Linked DNA regions of Homo sapiens: regions 2, 3 and 4 are each linked to region 1. Evidence: promoter capture Hi-C in 16 types of primary human blood cells and fetal thymus (Javierre and others, 2016). All regions are on one chromosome and are shown on one strand. The core of a region is centred on a gene start or on the middle of the fragment in contact, and the rest is flanking DNA. Distances in the headings are between cores, read along the strand shown. Region 1 overlaps TRPM4 (transient receptor potential cation channel subfamily M member 4). Region 2 holds the start of PRMT1 (protein arginine methyltransferase 1). Region 3 holds the start of RCN3 (reticulocalbin 3). Region 4 holds the start of FLT3LG (fms related receptor tyrosine kinase 3 ligand).

Region 1 (3,453 bases), core at 278-2,777:
TATGATTATATATGAATATCAATCATTAGTTTGTAGCAATTACTCTTTATTTCAATATTATAATAATCCTTGCTTTACAATCATAACCTAGGAAAAACCAAGCCATACAGAGATAGGAGCTGAAGGGGCATGATGAGAAGTGACCAGAAGACAGAGTGTGAGCCTTCTGTTATTCCTGGACAGGGCCACCAGAGGGCTCCTTGGTCTAGCGGTAACGCCAGCATCTGGGAAGATTCCCGTTACCAAGCGGACCGTGGTCTAGAGGTAGCGTCAGTGCCAAGGAAAAGCACCCACTACTTAGCAGACCGGGAAAGGGAGTCTCCCTTTCCCCGGGGGAGTTTAGAGAAGACTGCTCCACCACCTCTTGTGGAGGGCCTGACTGATGTCAGGCCCGCCCGCAGTTATCCAGGGGCCTAACCGTCTCCCTGTGATGCTGTGCTTCAGCGGTCACACTCCTGTTTCACTTTCATGTTCCACTCTGTACAGCTGGCTCTGCCCTCTAGATAGCAGTAGCAAAATTAGTGAAAGTATTAAAGTATTAAAGTCTTTGATCTTTCTTAAAAGAGCATAGAAGAAATAATGATGTAAGCTGTCCTCTCTCTCTCCGCCTTGGCTACCTAACAGGGAAGGGCCCCTGTCCAGTGGACATGTGACTCACGTGACCTTATCAATCATTGGAGATGACTCACACTCTTTACCCTGCCCCTTTTGCTTTGTATCCAATAAATAACAGCGCAGCCAGGCATTAGGGGCCACTGTCGGTCTCCACGTCTTGGTGGTAGTGGTCCCCCAGGCCCAGCTGTCTTTTCTTTGATCTCTTTGTCTTGTGTCTTCATTTCTACAATCTCTTGTCTCTGCACACGGGGAGAAAAACCCACAGACCTTGTAGGGCTGGCCCCTACAACCGTGTTAGCCAGGATGGTCTCGATCTCCTGACCTCATGATCTGCCCACCTCGGCCTCCCAAAGTGCTGGGATTGCAGGCTTGAGCCACCATGCATGGCTTTTTTTTTTTTTTTTTTTTTTTGAGACAAGGTTTCACTCTGTTGGTGGCACAATCATGATGGTGGTGAAATCATGGCTCACTGAAGCCACAGCCTTGACCTCCTGGGCTCAAGCCTTCCTCCCACCTCAGCCTCTTGAGTAGCTGGGACTACAGGCATGCACCACCACGCCTGGCAAATTTTTTATTTTTTTATTGAGATAAGGTCTCACTATGTTGCCCAGGTCGGTCTTGAACTCCTGGCCTCAAGTGATCCTCCCACTTTGGCTCCCTAAAGTATTGTGATTGCAGGCACAAGCCACCATGCATCATAATTTTTAAAAATCGTAAACTAGGAATAGAAATAAACTTTCTCAACATGAGAAAAGGTACTTCTGAAAAACCCACAGCTACCGTCATACCCAATGGTGAAAGAGTGAAAGCTTTCTGCCTAAGATCAGGGACAAGACAAGGATGTCCACTTTTACCACTGCTATTCCACATTGTGCTGGAAGTTCTGGCTAGAACAATTAAACAAGAAAAAAAATAAAAGGCATCCAAATTGGAAAGGAAGAAGTAAAAATATCTCTATTCACAGATGACATGATCCTATATATAGGAAATGCCAGAGAATCACAAGAAAGCTTCTAGGGCTGCAGATTCAGCAAAGTTGCAGGGTACAAGATCACACAAAAATCAGTTGTGTTTCTACACACCCGCAATGAACAATCCAAAAAGGAAATTAAGAAAGCAATTCCACTTACAACAGTATCTAAAGGTTAAGCACCTAGGAATAAAGTTAACCAAAAGGGTGAACAATTTGTAGCCTGAAAACTACCAAATACTGCTGGAAAAGCATTAAAAAGAACACCTAGATGAAATATCAATACTACCCGAAGCAATCTACAGATTCAACGCAATCCCTCGGAAAATTCCAACAACTGGCCGGGCGCGGTGGCTCACACCTGTAATCCCAGAACTTTGGGAGGCCAAGGCGGGTGGATCACCTGAGGTCGGGAGTTCGAGACCAGCCTGACCAACATGGAGAAACCCTGTCTCTACTAAAAATACAAAATTAGCCGGGCGTGGTGGCACATGCCTATAAGCCCAGCTACTCAGGAGGCTGAGGCAGGAGAATCGCTTGAGCCCGGGAGGCAGAGGTTGTGGTGAGCTGAGATCGCGCCATTGCACTCCAGCCTGGGCAACAAGAGTGAAACTCTGTCTCAAAAAAAAGAAAAAAAAAAAAGGAAAAAAAAAGAAAATTCCAACAACCTTTTTGACAGACATGGAAACTCTGATCTTTAAGTTCATATAGAATTGCAGGAGGCCCAGAATAGCCAAAACAATCTTGAAAAATAACAAAGGAGACTCATACTTCCAATGTCAAAATTTGCTACAAACCTACAGTAATCAACACTGTGTGGGCTAGACATGGTGGCTCACGCCTGTAATCCCAGCACCTTGGAAAGCCGAGGCAGATCACCTGAGGTCAGGAGTTCAAGACTAGCCTGGCCAACATGGTGAAACCCTGTCTCTACCAAAAATACAAAAAAATTAGCCGGGCGTGGTGGCAGGTGCCTGTAATCCCAGCTACTCAGGAGGCTGAGTTAGGAGAATCGTTTGAATCCAGGATGCGGATGTTGCAGTGAGCAGAGATCGTGCCACTGCAATCCCGCCTGGGTGACAAGAGCGAGACTCCGTCTCAAAAAAAACCCAAAAAACTGTGTGGTTCTGGCATAAGGATAGACGCAATCCAGTGGAATAGAATTGAAAGTCCAGAAATAAACTCATAAATCTATGAGTGTCATGCATTGAATTGTATCCCGCTAAAGATATGTTGAAGTCCGGCCGGGTCCAGTGGCTCACGGCTGTAATCCCAGCACTTTGGGAGGCCGAGGCAGGTGCATCACCTGAGGTCAGGAGTTTGAGATCGGCCTGGGCAACATGGTGAAACCCCGTCCCTACTAAAAATACAAAAATTAGCTGTGTATAGTGGCAGGCACCTGTAATCCCAGCTACTCGGGAGGCTGAGGCAGGAGAATCCCTTGAACCCAGGAGGTGGAGGTTGCAGTGAGCCGAGATCACGCCATTGCACTCCAACCTGGGTGACAGAGCAAGACTCTGTCTCCAAAAAAAAAAAAAAAAAAAAAAAAAAGTTGAAGTCATAACCCATAGTGCCTCAGAATGAGACCTTTTTAAATTTTTTATTTATGAAATATGTGGCTTTATTCGGAAATAGAGTTTACACATGTGATCAAGTTAAAATGAAGTTATTAGCATGGTCCCTAATCCAATTTAAGTAACGTTTTATTAAAAGGGGAAATCTGGAAGATGAAAGCAGAAGTTTCAATGACGCAACTAGAAGCCAAAGATGGCCAGCAAAGCACTAGACGTGACAGGAGGGGCATGGAACAGACTCTCCCCGACATCCCTCAGAAGAAAACAGCTTGACGGATGCCTTGATTTTGGACC
Region 2 (3,453 bases), core at 339-2,838, 470 kb before region 1:
CCCCCATTCAGACACCCATCCCAGGCCCTGAAGACTTCCAGGTGCGGCCAAGCCTGAGGCCACCTCTGGGAAAGTTATTTCCTCCATCCATAGAGCCCCAGGTGCAGGAGACAGCCAAGAGGGTGGGAAGTCATTACAGTGACCCCTGGGAGCTGCATCCTGACAGCTGAGAGCTGACCTGCCCCTCCAGCCAATGCCATAGGTAAGGGGTGGAAGGACAGAGGCCCCATCAGATTACATCTCTTCCAGATGTGACCACTATCCAAGTCTCCAAGAAGGGCCACGTCACAGGCCATGACCTACTAGGCTCCAAGCACCCTCCCTCCAGCTCTCCCAAGCTAGCGGGGATGCCTATAAGAAGAAAGGTGCTGAGGGGGTTTCCCACTCGGGCCTATTTCTCAATACCACTGAAAACTACCGCCAGACAACCCCAGCCCCAGAGGGCTTGAAACGCAAGACTGAAACCTCCCCCACATGGCTGCACGAGAACCAAACCTCACTCGAAACCATTTCAGGCACCCACTCTCAGGACCCCAGGGCTCAGGACCCTGCACAGGGCTTCAGGAAGAAGGAGGTCATCTCGCACCCTCACAAAGACCCGGGGGAGATAAACGGCTCCAGTAGGGTAAAGCTCTCAGCCTACATATTTCCCACAACTCCTTCCCAGCGGACATACCCTCCTCCCTCCGCCCGCCAGGAAGAAATCCGAGGGGAGGTGGGCTTCAGGACACGCCCCATGAAAAAGATGTCCCTCCCACACACCCAGAAATGGCCACAAGGGGGTGCACGGCGCCTATTAATGGGAAAATCTCTATCTAGATGCCCCACCACCACCCAGAGGGAGGTCACAGGGGCATGCCCCATCCCCCAACTCCTAAAGCCCTGGGCGAGGGGGAGAATTCTGGGAGGGGAAACGGGGTCGGCGGGGGACCCCATTCTTGGTTTTCCTCCAGTCCCTAACCCAGAACGCACAAAACCGGGTCCGATATCCCAACAGATGCCCCCGGAGCTCGGAAGGAGGTTGGTAAAGGGCTGAGAAGCACTGCTCCTCCCAAGAGACTCCCCACATCGTGGAGGGCCCCAGGTCGATCACACCCCACGGCGTGTGCCCAGGTCCCCGGGGAGGAGGGCTGGGGGCGTCAGGAGGGTCGGACCCCCTCCCCGCCCCCCTGGGCGCCCCTCCCCGGCCGGGGGCGGGGCCTTTGTCCCGCACGTGGAGCCCGCCGGGCCACTGGACTCGGCACACCCCCTCCCCACCCACCGCGCAGCGGCCACGTGGGGGCCTGGCCGGAAGCGCCCCCAGCCCTCCTCCACGTGGGAGGGGGGATAAGACCCTCCGCTAGGCCGGATGCCGAAGGCCCTTGGAAGCTAGGGAGCCGTCACCTCAAACGATATCCCCGGATGTGGAACGTGCGGCGCCCCCGTGTGCGGCGGGGGACCTCCAACCCCATATCGCCAACTTAGAGCCCTTTCCCCACCACAGAGGCGTGAAACACCGACCCAAAGCCGCCTCCCGCCCACGGCGGCGCTCCAAGCGCTCACCTCCATGATGCAGTTCGCGGCCTCGGCTGCCGCCATCTTCACCCGCACCTACTCCTCCTCCGGCCGCCAAGACCCCCCCTTTCTCCTCACTCCCCCGGGACCGCCTTATACCAGAGGGTCCACGGCCCGCCTACCGCGACCCCGCTGGAAGATTTCATTGGCAATGGAGGCGGCCCGTCTGAGAATACCGTCTAGTAATTGGCTAGAGAATACGTCCATCATAGGTCAGGGGTTTGCCAACTCTGGCGTCCAGAATCCCGCCCCCTCAAGTCGACCCGGGATGGGGAAAACTGCCCGTCTATTGCAAGAAGCGCGACTGGTGATTGGGCAAAATCCACCAGGAATGCCCTCCCCTTTACACCCAGCACCGCCTCAAAGCTTCCCGGGGAGCCCCGCGCTAAAGGGGCGTCTTGAAACACCTGTCCATCACCAAAACGACCCGCCTCCTAATCGCTGCCATTGGTTTATCCGGAAGCGACGTCACGCAGCCTTTGGCCCACCCTCGCCAAGCGGCCGGCCTCAAGGAGAACACGGCAATTGGCCCACGGGTAGGGAAGAAGGCGGGGCTTCAGGCACCAACGATTGGCTCAAAGGAATTATCACTCCTCGTCCACTCGGTGGATCCTCCCAACCCGGGGGGAGTCTGGAGGAAAAAGGGAGCTTGTGCTCATTACCTGGGGGAAAAACGGAATCGGTGAGAGGCCCAGAGAGAGGAAGGGCATAGCTGGGGTCCCGAAGCAAGTGAGGAATAGGAGTCCGTCGTCAACACATTAAATCCCTAGCCCTTGACATAATCATTCCAAGTTTTTTAAAACCATCAACCCCTCTCAAGCCACTTGGTTTTTGCCAAGTCCCTCCCCCTGCCAGGAACGCCCACCTCTCTTTGTCTGGTCAGCTTCTAAACGTGAATCAGAGCACAGCTTAGGCACCACTTCCTCCGGGAAGCTTTCCTTGATTTGCAGAAAAAGTTCCTAGTTGAATGAAGCTGAATGCAAAGGGCCGAATGCGTGGGTCCTGCCCCTCCTCTCCCCGATCCCTCTACTTCCCTCTGCTCACACTTCTCTCCAATCCCGGAATGAGCTCGCTCTTTGGTTTCTGGGCCTCCGCGCAGGCTATACTCTCTGGCGTGCCGCTGGCAAACGCCTGAGACTTAAAATTTACAATAGGGTTCGGGCGCGATGGCTCACGGGTGTAATTCCAGCACTTTAGGAGGCGGAGGCAGGCGGATCACTTGACATCAGGAGTTCGAGACCAGTCTGGGCAACATGGTGAAACCCCCATTTCTATTAAAAATACAAAAATTACGCCAGGCGGCCGGGCGCGGTGGCTCACGCCTGTAATCCCAGCATTTTGGGAGACCGAGGCGGGCGGATCACAAGGTCAGGAGGTCGAGACCATCCTGGCTAACATGGTGAAACCCCCGTCTCTACTAAAAATACAAAAAATTAGCCGGGCGTGGAGGCTTAGGCAGGAGGATGGCGTGAACCCGGGAGGCGGAGCTTGCAGTGAGCTGAGATCGCGCCACTGCACTCCAGCCTGGGTGACAGAGCGAGACTCTTGTCTCAAAAAAAAAAAAAAAAAAAATTTGGCCGGGCGCGGTGACTCACGCCTGTAATCCCAGCATTTTGGAAGGCTGAGGTGGGCGGATCACAAGCTCAGGAGTTCGAGACCAGCCTAGCCAATATGGTGAAACCCCCGTCTCTACTAAAAAAACAAAAATTAGCCGGGTGTGGTGGTGGGCGCCTGTAGTCCCAGCTGCTCCAGAGGCTGAGGCAGGAGAATCACGTGAACCCGGGAGGCAGAGGTTGCAGTGAGCTGAGATGGTGCCACTGCACTCCAGCCTAGGCGACACAGCGAGACTCCATCTCAAAAAATAATAAAATAAATAAAAATAAAAATAAAAAAATTAGC
Region 3 (3,453 bases), core at 329-2,828, 320 kb before region 1:
TTAGCTGTTGTGACTTCAGCACCTAGAGCAGTGCCTGGCACATAGCAGGTGCTCGATAAACCTTTGCAGGCTCAATCAGTGTCAGGAGGATGCACAGAAGAAGGCGGCTGCTCCCATCGCGCCCCCCTGCGCTCAGGCCTGGACGGAGAGGGTGGACAGGGCTCCATTCCACCCAGCTCACCCTGAAACTCAGGGCTCTGCCACTCTCCTGCACTGGCCGGGCTCCTTAAAGGCCAAACCTCATTTTCCACACCAGTCCCTGCCATTTACAGAGCAGGAAACTGAGGCTTGGGGAGGGGAGATGTCTGGGACAAAAGAATAAGGAGCGCTTAGGGGGCAGAATCTAACCCAGATTTTGCTGCCCTCAAAGGTCCTCTTTTTTATTGTTGTTGTTGTTTTTTAGACGGAGTCTCACTTTGTCGCCCTGACTGGAGGGCAGTGGTGCAATTTTGGCTCACTGCAACCTCCACCTCCCAGGTTCAAGCGATTCTCCTGCCTCAGCCTCCCGAGTAGCTGGGATTACAGGTGCCCACCACCACGCCTGCCTAATTTTGTATTTTTAGTAGAGACGGGATTTCACCATGTTGGCCAGGCTGTTCTCGAACTCCTGACCTCAAGTGATCGGCCTGCCTTGGCCTCCCAAAGTGCTGGGATTACAGGCATGAGCCACCACGCCCGGTCTCAAAGGTCCTCTTTAGGCCTCAATTTTAACTTAATTTCTTTTTCCCAAGGATAGAAGGTAGAATTTCATTTCTCACAAAGAAATGAAGTTCAGTCCACGCCATTTCTCTGACCCCTGTCGATACCCCCGCGTCTCTCTCCTAAGCCCCACCTCTGGACACGCCCCAACCGAATGTCTCTCTTACCCCAGACGGGCCTGGCTTTCCTCTGGGGTGAGTTGGTCGAATTCCTTGGCCACTTCCCGTCCCAGGAAAGCCTCATGGTCGTACTGGAAGTTCCCGTGGGCGTCATCATGGGGAGCGTCGCTCAGGGGGGCCGCCTGGTGCACCCTCCCCTGGCCATGAGGGCCTGCGTCTGGGGATGGCTTCCCCTGGGCCCCGTGCCTCAGTAGCAACAGAAGCAGCAGAACTGATGGTCGCCACATCATCGGTCCCTGGGGAGTGGCAAAGGCCAGGGGTCAGGGGTCACAGGGATGGGGACAGACACGGGATAGGAGAATGGCGGGGTGGAGGGGTTACCTAGGACAGGACAGGGAGTTGGAAGTTGGCTGCAAGCTTTCGGGCTCAAAAAGGGCGGGCGATGGGGGAAAAGAGGGCGGGATGCTTAGAGGTAAAGCCACCTATGGGGAGGACCGAATCTTCTGACGGAGTCTCAGGGGGGTCCCAGACCTGCCAGGGGGAATTACAGAGACAGACGTGGCGCACATCCCACGCAAGGTGCAGGGCATAGTTGTGGCCAGCGAGAGGTCAGGCAGGCTCCCCGTCATTGCTCCCAGTCCGGACCCTGGTCCTCGACCCGAGCCGCCCTCCCTGGACAGAGGCCCCCCACCCACTCCCTTTACCCTGTTATCCAGCTTCGCTCCGCTCTCCACGCTCCGCTCTGCGTTCCCGCAAATGTGCCCAATTCGGCCGCTCTCCAGTCAGGCCCCGCCTCTGGCAGCGCAGAGCCCCGCCCCCCGCCCAATGAGCTCGCACGAGCGTCTCACGGGGCGGGGCCAATGAGTGCACGGGGTGCCGCGGGCACTCCTCGCCACGTCCACAAAGGAAACCGCGGCCTGCCCGGGGAAGAAGGGTGGGCGACACCGCAGTGACGCGGCCGGGGAGAACTACAACTCCTGGCAGTCGTCGCGGCACTCTGCCGTCCACCTCCAGCTGTTCTAGTCACAACGCCTCACGGGAAATGTATTTTTCCCTTTCCCTTTGTCAGGATGGTTTAAGAAAGAGGTGTACGTTCCAACACTTCTATACCAAACAAAACAAAACAAAACAAAAATAAACAAAAAGAACGAAAGAAAAGAAAAAAGGCCGGGCGCGGTGGCTCACGCCTGTAATCCCAGAACTTTGGGAGGCCGAGGCGGGCGGATCGCCTGAGGTCGGGAGTTCGAGACCAGCCTGATCAACACGGAGAAACCCCATCTCTACTAAACATACAAAATTAGCCGGGTGTGGTGGCGCATGTCTTTAATCCCAGCTACTTTGGGAGGCTGAGGCAGGAGAATTGCTTGAACCTGGGAGGCGGAGGTTGTGGTGAGCCGAGATCGCACCATTGCATTCCAGCCTGGGCAACAAGAGCGAAACTCCGTCTCAAAAAAAAAAAGAAAGAAAAGAAAAGAAAAGAAAAGGGAGAGCAGAATCAAGGGGCCGGAGGAAATATCCCATTTCCTCCAAGAGTGAACACTGCTCCTCGCTCCTCTTCGGCTCCAAGGATTCAGGTGGTCAGACAGTAGCCAAGAATTCCTCAAAATGCCTGGCATGGCAGTCATCCAGTAAATATTTGTAAAAGTTATGAATTAAAAATACATGACCTCAGGTTGAGCACAGTAGCTCAATGCCTGTAATCCCAGAACTTTGGGAAGCTGAGGCAGGTGGATCACCTGAGGTCAGGAGTTCCAGACCAGCCTGACCAACATGGTGAAACCCCGTCTCTACTAAATACAAAAAATTAGCCGGGTGTGGTGGTGCATGCCTGTAATCCCAGCTACTTGGGAGGCAGGAGAATTGCTTGAACCTGGGAGGCGGAGGTTGCAGTGAGCTGAGATCACGCAATTGTACTCCAGTCTGAGCAACAAGAGCAAAACTCTGTCTTAAAAAAAAAAAAAAAAAGTGACCTTAGGCCGGGCGCGGTGGCTCACACTTGTAATCCCACCCCTTTGGGAGGCAGAGGCGGGTGGATCATGAGGTCAGGAGATCGAGACCATCCTGGCTAACATGGTGAAACCCCGTCTGTACTAAAAATACAAAAAATTAGCCAGGCATGGTGGCAGGCGCCTGTAGTCCCAGCTACTCGGGAGCCTGAGGCAGGAGAATGGCGTGAACCCAGGGAGGCGGAGCTTACAGTGAGCCGAGATCGCGCCACAGGACTCCGGACTGAGCAACAGAGCAAGACTCCGTCTAAAAAAAAAGAAAAAAGAAAAAGAAAAAGAAAATACATGACCTGATGTATAAAACTGGCAGGTTCCCCTGTGGCAGCATGTTACCTGTAGGAGAGATCCGAGGCCCAGCCGCCATTCAGTCCCCCGACTTATTCCCTTACCTCCCCTGCCTGAAAAATGATGAGAACACACTGATTCGGGCCCAAACTCGTGTTATATTATCGAGGTGGAAAACAGCCATATGTATTAGGAGGGGAAACTGAGGCAGACCACAGGACGGGGCTCCAGAGGGAGGACAACTAGGCCCAGAACCCCTTCTGGAGGCTCAGAGATGCCAGTGTTCCAGGAGGTCTCACAGCATGAAAGGGGCCTGACTACATTCGCTTTTAGCAGTCGGAATG
Region 4 (3,453 bases), core at 301-2,800, 270 kb before region 1:
GGGCTGTGTTGGAAGGAGCAGTCCTGGGTCCCACTGAGTCCCGAGCTCAGCAGCAGCAGCAGGAGGAGATAGGTCTGCAGGGGAGCGGGTGCTGGGGGAGCCCTCTGCTGTTCCACACACAGCCCCCTCCTCCGGGCTTCCCACCTGTACTGTTCTGTCTTCCCCGCTCCTCCTTCCCTGGGTGTCCTTCTGCCTCTTCCACACTTTCTGGAGACATGGCCCCATCTCTGCCTGTCTTTCCCGGTTTCTCTCTGCCTCTGGTCCAATGCTGTCCAGTTTGCATCCCCCTCTGCCCCACCCCTCTCTCTCCCCATCTCCCCCACTCTGCTGGTCTCTCTCCAACCACCTCATCTTCACGTCTGGTTTCCTCGCCCGGGTTCCTCCAGCTCTGTCCCTCCCTCTGCCTTCTACACCACTGTTGCCTGCTTCTCTCTTGATCTTGGTCCACGTCCTCTTCATTTGTTCTTGGCTCTGTCCACCTTCCCTCTCCTCTGTCCATCTCCCCCCTTTTCTGTCCATCTCCCCCTCCTCTGTCCATCTCCCCCCTCCTCTGTCTCTCTTCCTCTCCTCTGTCCGTCTCCCTCCTCCTGTCCACCTCCCCCTCCTCTTCATCTCCCTCTCCTCTGTCCATCTCCCCCTCCTGTCCATCTCCCCTCTCCTCTGTCCATACCCCCTCCTCTCCATCTTCCCTCCTGTCCATCTCCCCCACCTCTGTCCATCTCCCCCTTCTCTGTCCATCTCCCTCCTCCTGTCCACCTCCCTCCTCTTTATCTCCCTCTCCTCTGTTCATCTGCCCTCTCCTCTGTCCATCTCCCCCTCCTCTGTCCATCTCCCCGCTCCTGTCCATCTCCCACTCCTCTCTATCTCCCTCTCCTCTATCTCCCCCTCCTCTGTCCATCTCCCCATCCTCTGTCCATCTCCCCCTCCTCTGTCCGTCTCCTCTCCTATCCATCTCCCCTCACATCTGTCCATCTCCCCTCCTATTTCCTCGTCATCTGTCCATCTGTTCTCCCGTCCATCTCCCCTCATCTCTGCCCCATCCTGACATTGTGCCTCCCCTCTCCCCTGATCTTGTCCCTGGGGTTTACGCACTGTTGGGCTCCAGGCTGGCGCCAGCACTGTCATTTCGGCCGGGGGCCCCTCATGCCTCCTGTCGCCGGGTCTTGGAAGGGACAGAAGAACAAGTCTCGGACCCTCATGCCCCAGCCCCTGCCCTGCCCGCCCCTTTGCCTCCCCGCCCCTCCCGCGTCCCATTGATGTGGCTGAGTTTCCGCCCCTTCCTCCCCCAGGCTTCCTGCGTCTGCCCCAGTTACGGTGAAAACTCTTCATCTCCACTTCTAAGAACCTCGACGTCTGGTCCCCAGAACCCTCCCCAGGTTAGGGACCCGGGAACCCAGCCCCCCACCCTCTGCTCCCCCTGCCCCAGGAGTGGGGACCCTGGCTCCGCCCCTTGGGGACCTAGAGTCCAAGTCTCCTCACGCACCAGGCTTGCCCCAGTTGGGTGTGGAAGGGGCCAAGCCGGGTGACAGCCAGAGACCGAAAGTGAAAGGAAATTTTTGGGGGGAGACAGTCAAGGGGTGGAATCTGGGCCCAGGCGGAGCGCGCCCCCTGGTGGTGAGAGGCGGCCGCTCACGCCGCAGATGGCGCGTTCTCCGGACGCCCCGCAGCGGGGGCTGCAGTGGGGCTGACTCCCTGGGTGGCACGCCCAGTGCATGGTGAGCTGGGGCTGGAACCCGGATCTGTCTCTGGGAACTCGCAGTTGCTGTGTCTTACCGTCCTCCGGGCCCCAACTTTGCCCCGCCAAGGCTTGGCACACAGGACTCAGGATGCATCTTGTCACATTGGGCCTGGCAGGTGTCGCCCTAGCACTAGCTTTATCACTGTGGGAGCTTGGCCAGCCCCTTGACCTCTCTAAGCCTCGGCTTCTCCAACTCCAAACTGAGGGGTGAGGTGGTACATGAGACAAAATAGAAGCTCTCTTCCACATCTGTGGATCTCTGAATCTCTGAAGCATTTTTTTTTTTTAGATGGGGTCTCACTCTGTTGCCCAGGCTGGAGTGCAGTGGCACAGTCTCGGCTCACGGCAACCTCCGCCTCCTGGGCTTAAGCAATTCTTGTGCCTCAGGCTCCCAAGTAGCTGGAATTGCAGGTGCGTGCCACCATGCCCGGCTAATTTTTGTATTTTTAGTAGAGACGAGGTTTCACTATGTTGGCCAGGCTGATCTCGAACTCCTGACCTCAGGTGATCAGCCTGCCTCGGCCTCCCAAAATGCTGGGATTACAGGTGTGACCCATCACGCCCATCCTGAATCTCTTGCTCACCCATCTGATCCGTGGCAGACTGTCCTGAAACATCTGCTGCCCCCACCCCCCCAGCAGGAGGATTCGAGGTCCCATCCTGGGGAACTCGGACATGGCCACACTCACTTTGGCCAGTCACATGAGGGTGGAGGTGACAGGTGTCACTTCTGAATGGAAGTCTAAGGGACCGGGGAGTGGATGGTGGAGGATGCATGGAGAGAGCGCCTCTATCAGCCAAGTTTCCTGTGCCACTCGGAGGAGCACAGGGATCCTGCCAGCCCCGGATGAGCACAGGGAGTGTAAGCAACAAACTAATGTTGTGGTTGTGGCCCACGCAGATTCGGGGGTTATGTGTTACTGCAGCAAAGCCTCGCCCGTCCTGGCCTTCATCATCCATTTCCCTTCCCTGATCCCTCTGCCTGCCTCACTTCCTGTTCAGCCTGGGTTAGCTGCCTTGTCGCACCCAATGGTCAGACCTTCCATCTGGCTAGAAAGATTTAAATGAAGCAGAGAGGCAGAGATACAAGCCCCAATAGCTCATGTGGCCCATGGACAAAGGACCTGCTCTAGCTCCTTCCTGACCAAGTCCTGGGGCCCCTCAATGTGTGTCCTGCCCTATCGCCCTATTGCCTCTAGGGAATCTCTGTAGCCTTCCAGAAGACTCCTCTCTCTCTCTCTTTTTTTTTTGAGACCGAGTCTCGCTGTGTTGCCCAGGCTGGAGTGCAGTGGCACGATCTTGGCTCACTGCAAGCTCCCCCTCTGCCTCCCAGGTTCAAGCAATTCTCCTGCCTCCCAGATAGCTGGGATTTCAGGTGCCGCCACCACGCCTGGCTAATTTTTATAATTTTAGTAGAGACGGGATTTCACCATGGTGCCCAGGCTGGTCTCAAACTTCTGACAAGTGATCCACCCACCTCGGCCTCCCAAAGTGCTGGGATTACAGGTGTGAACTGCCACACCTAGTCCGGAAAACTCTCATTTTTTTTTTCTTTGAGATGGAGCCTTGCTCTGTTGCCCAGACTAGAGTGAAGTGTGTGCTCTCAGCTCACTGCAACCTCTGCCTCCTGGGTTCGAGTGATTCTTCTGCCTCAGCCTCCTGAGTAATTGGGATTACAGGTGCCCGCCACCACACCCAGCTAATTTTTGTATTTT

The links. The method cuts DNA at HindIII sites, captures the fragments that hold promoters and counts their contacts. A CHiCAGO score of 5 or more calls a contact.
Region 2: the fragment with the promoter of PRMT1 here is called in contact with a fragment that was not itself captured in region 1 in 5 of 17 cell types (naive CD4 T cells, naive CD8 T cells, total CD8 T cells and 2 more); the score reaches 6.8 in naive CD4 T cells.
Region 3: the fragment with the promoter of RCN3 here is called in contact with a fragment that was not itself captured in region 1 in 2 of 17 cell types (naive B cells and total B cells); the score reaches 6.4 in naive B cells.
Region 4: the fragment with the promoter of FLT3LG here is called in contact with a fragment that was not itself captured in region 1 in 2 of 17 cell types (naive B cells and total B cells); the score reaches 7.8 in naive B cells.

The regions. Positions count from the first base shown.
Region 1 is chr19:49,205,210-49,208,662 of GRCh38, reverse strand. All of the region lies in intron 20 of TRPM4 (transient receptor potential cation channel subfamily M member 4), which reads right to left. Among named protein-coding and RNA genes, the nearest start is that of TRPM4, 49 kb to the right of the region's middle. The HindIII fragment of the contact is 201 bases long and covers 1,427-1,627 here.
Region 2 is chr19:49,675,406-49,678,858 of GRCh38, reverse strand. PRMT1 (protein arginine methyltransferase 1) reads right to left here and starts at 1,588. Exons shown (of 11, transcript NM_001536.6): 1 at 1,543-1,588. The coding sequence starts at 1,578. RefSeq lists a silencer at 1,094-1,373 and enhancers at 1,218-1,949, 1,954-2,103. The HindIII fragment of the contact is 22,690 bases long and covers 1-1,922 here.
Region 3 is chr19:49,526,128-49,529,580 of GRCh38, reverse strand. RCN3 (reticulocalbin 3) reads right to left here and starts at 1,578. Exons shown (of 7, transcript NM_020650.3): 1 at 1,523-1,578; 2 at 867-1,114. The coding sequence starts at 1,108. It overlaps FCGRT (Fc gamma receptor and transporter), which reads right to left. Exons shown (of 7, transcript NM_001136019.3): 7 at 3,153-3,453. RefSeq lists a silencer at 1,501-1,620 and an enhancer at 1,084-1,662. The HindIII fragment of the contact is 8,718 bases long and covers 1,238-3,453 here.
Region 4 is chr19:49,472,312-49,475,764 of GRCh38, reverse strand. FLT3LG (fms related receptor tyrosine kinase 3 ligand) reads right to left here and starts at 1,550. Exons shown (of 9, transcript NM_001459.4): 1 at 1,484-1,550; 2 at 1,093-1,162; 3 at 1-74. The coding sequence starts at 1,125. RefSeq lists a silencer at 1,092-1,171. The HindIII fragment of the contact is 13,906 bases long and covers 1-3,453 here.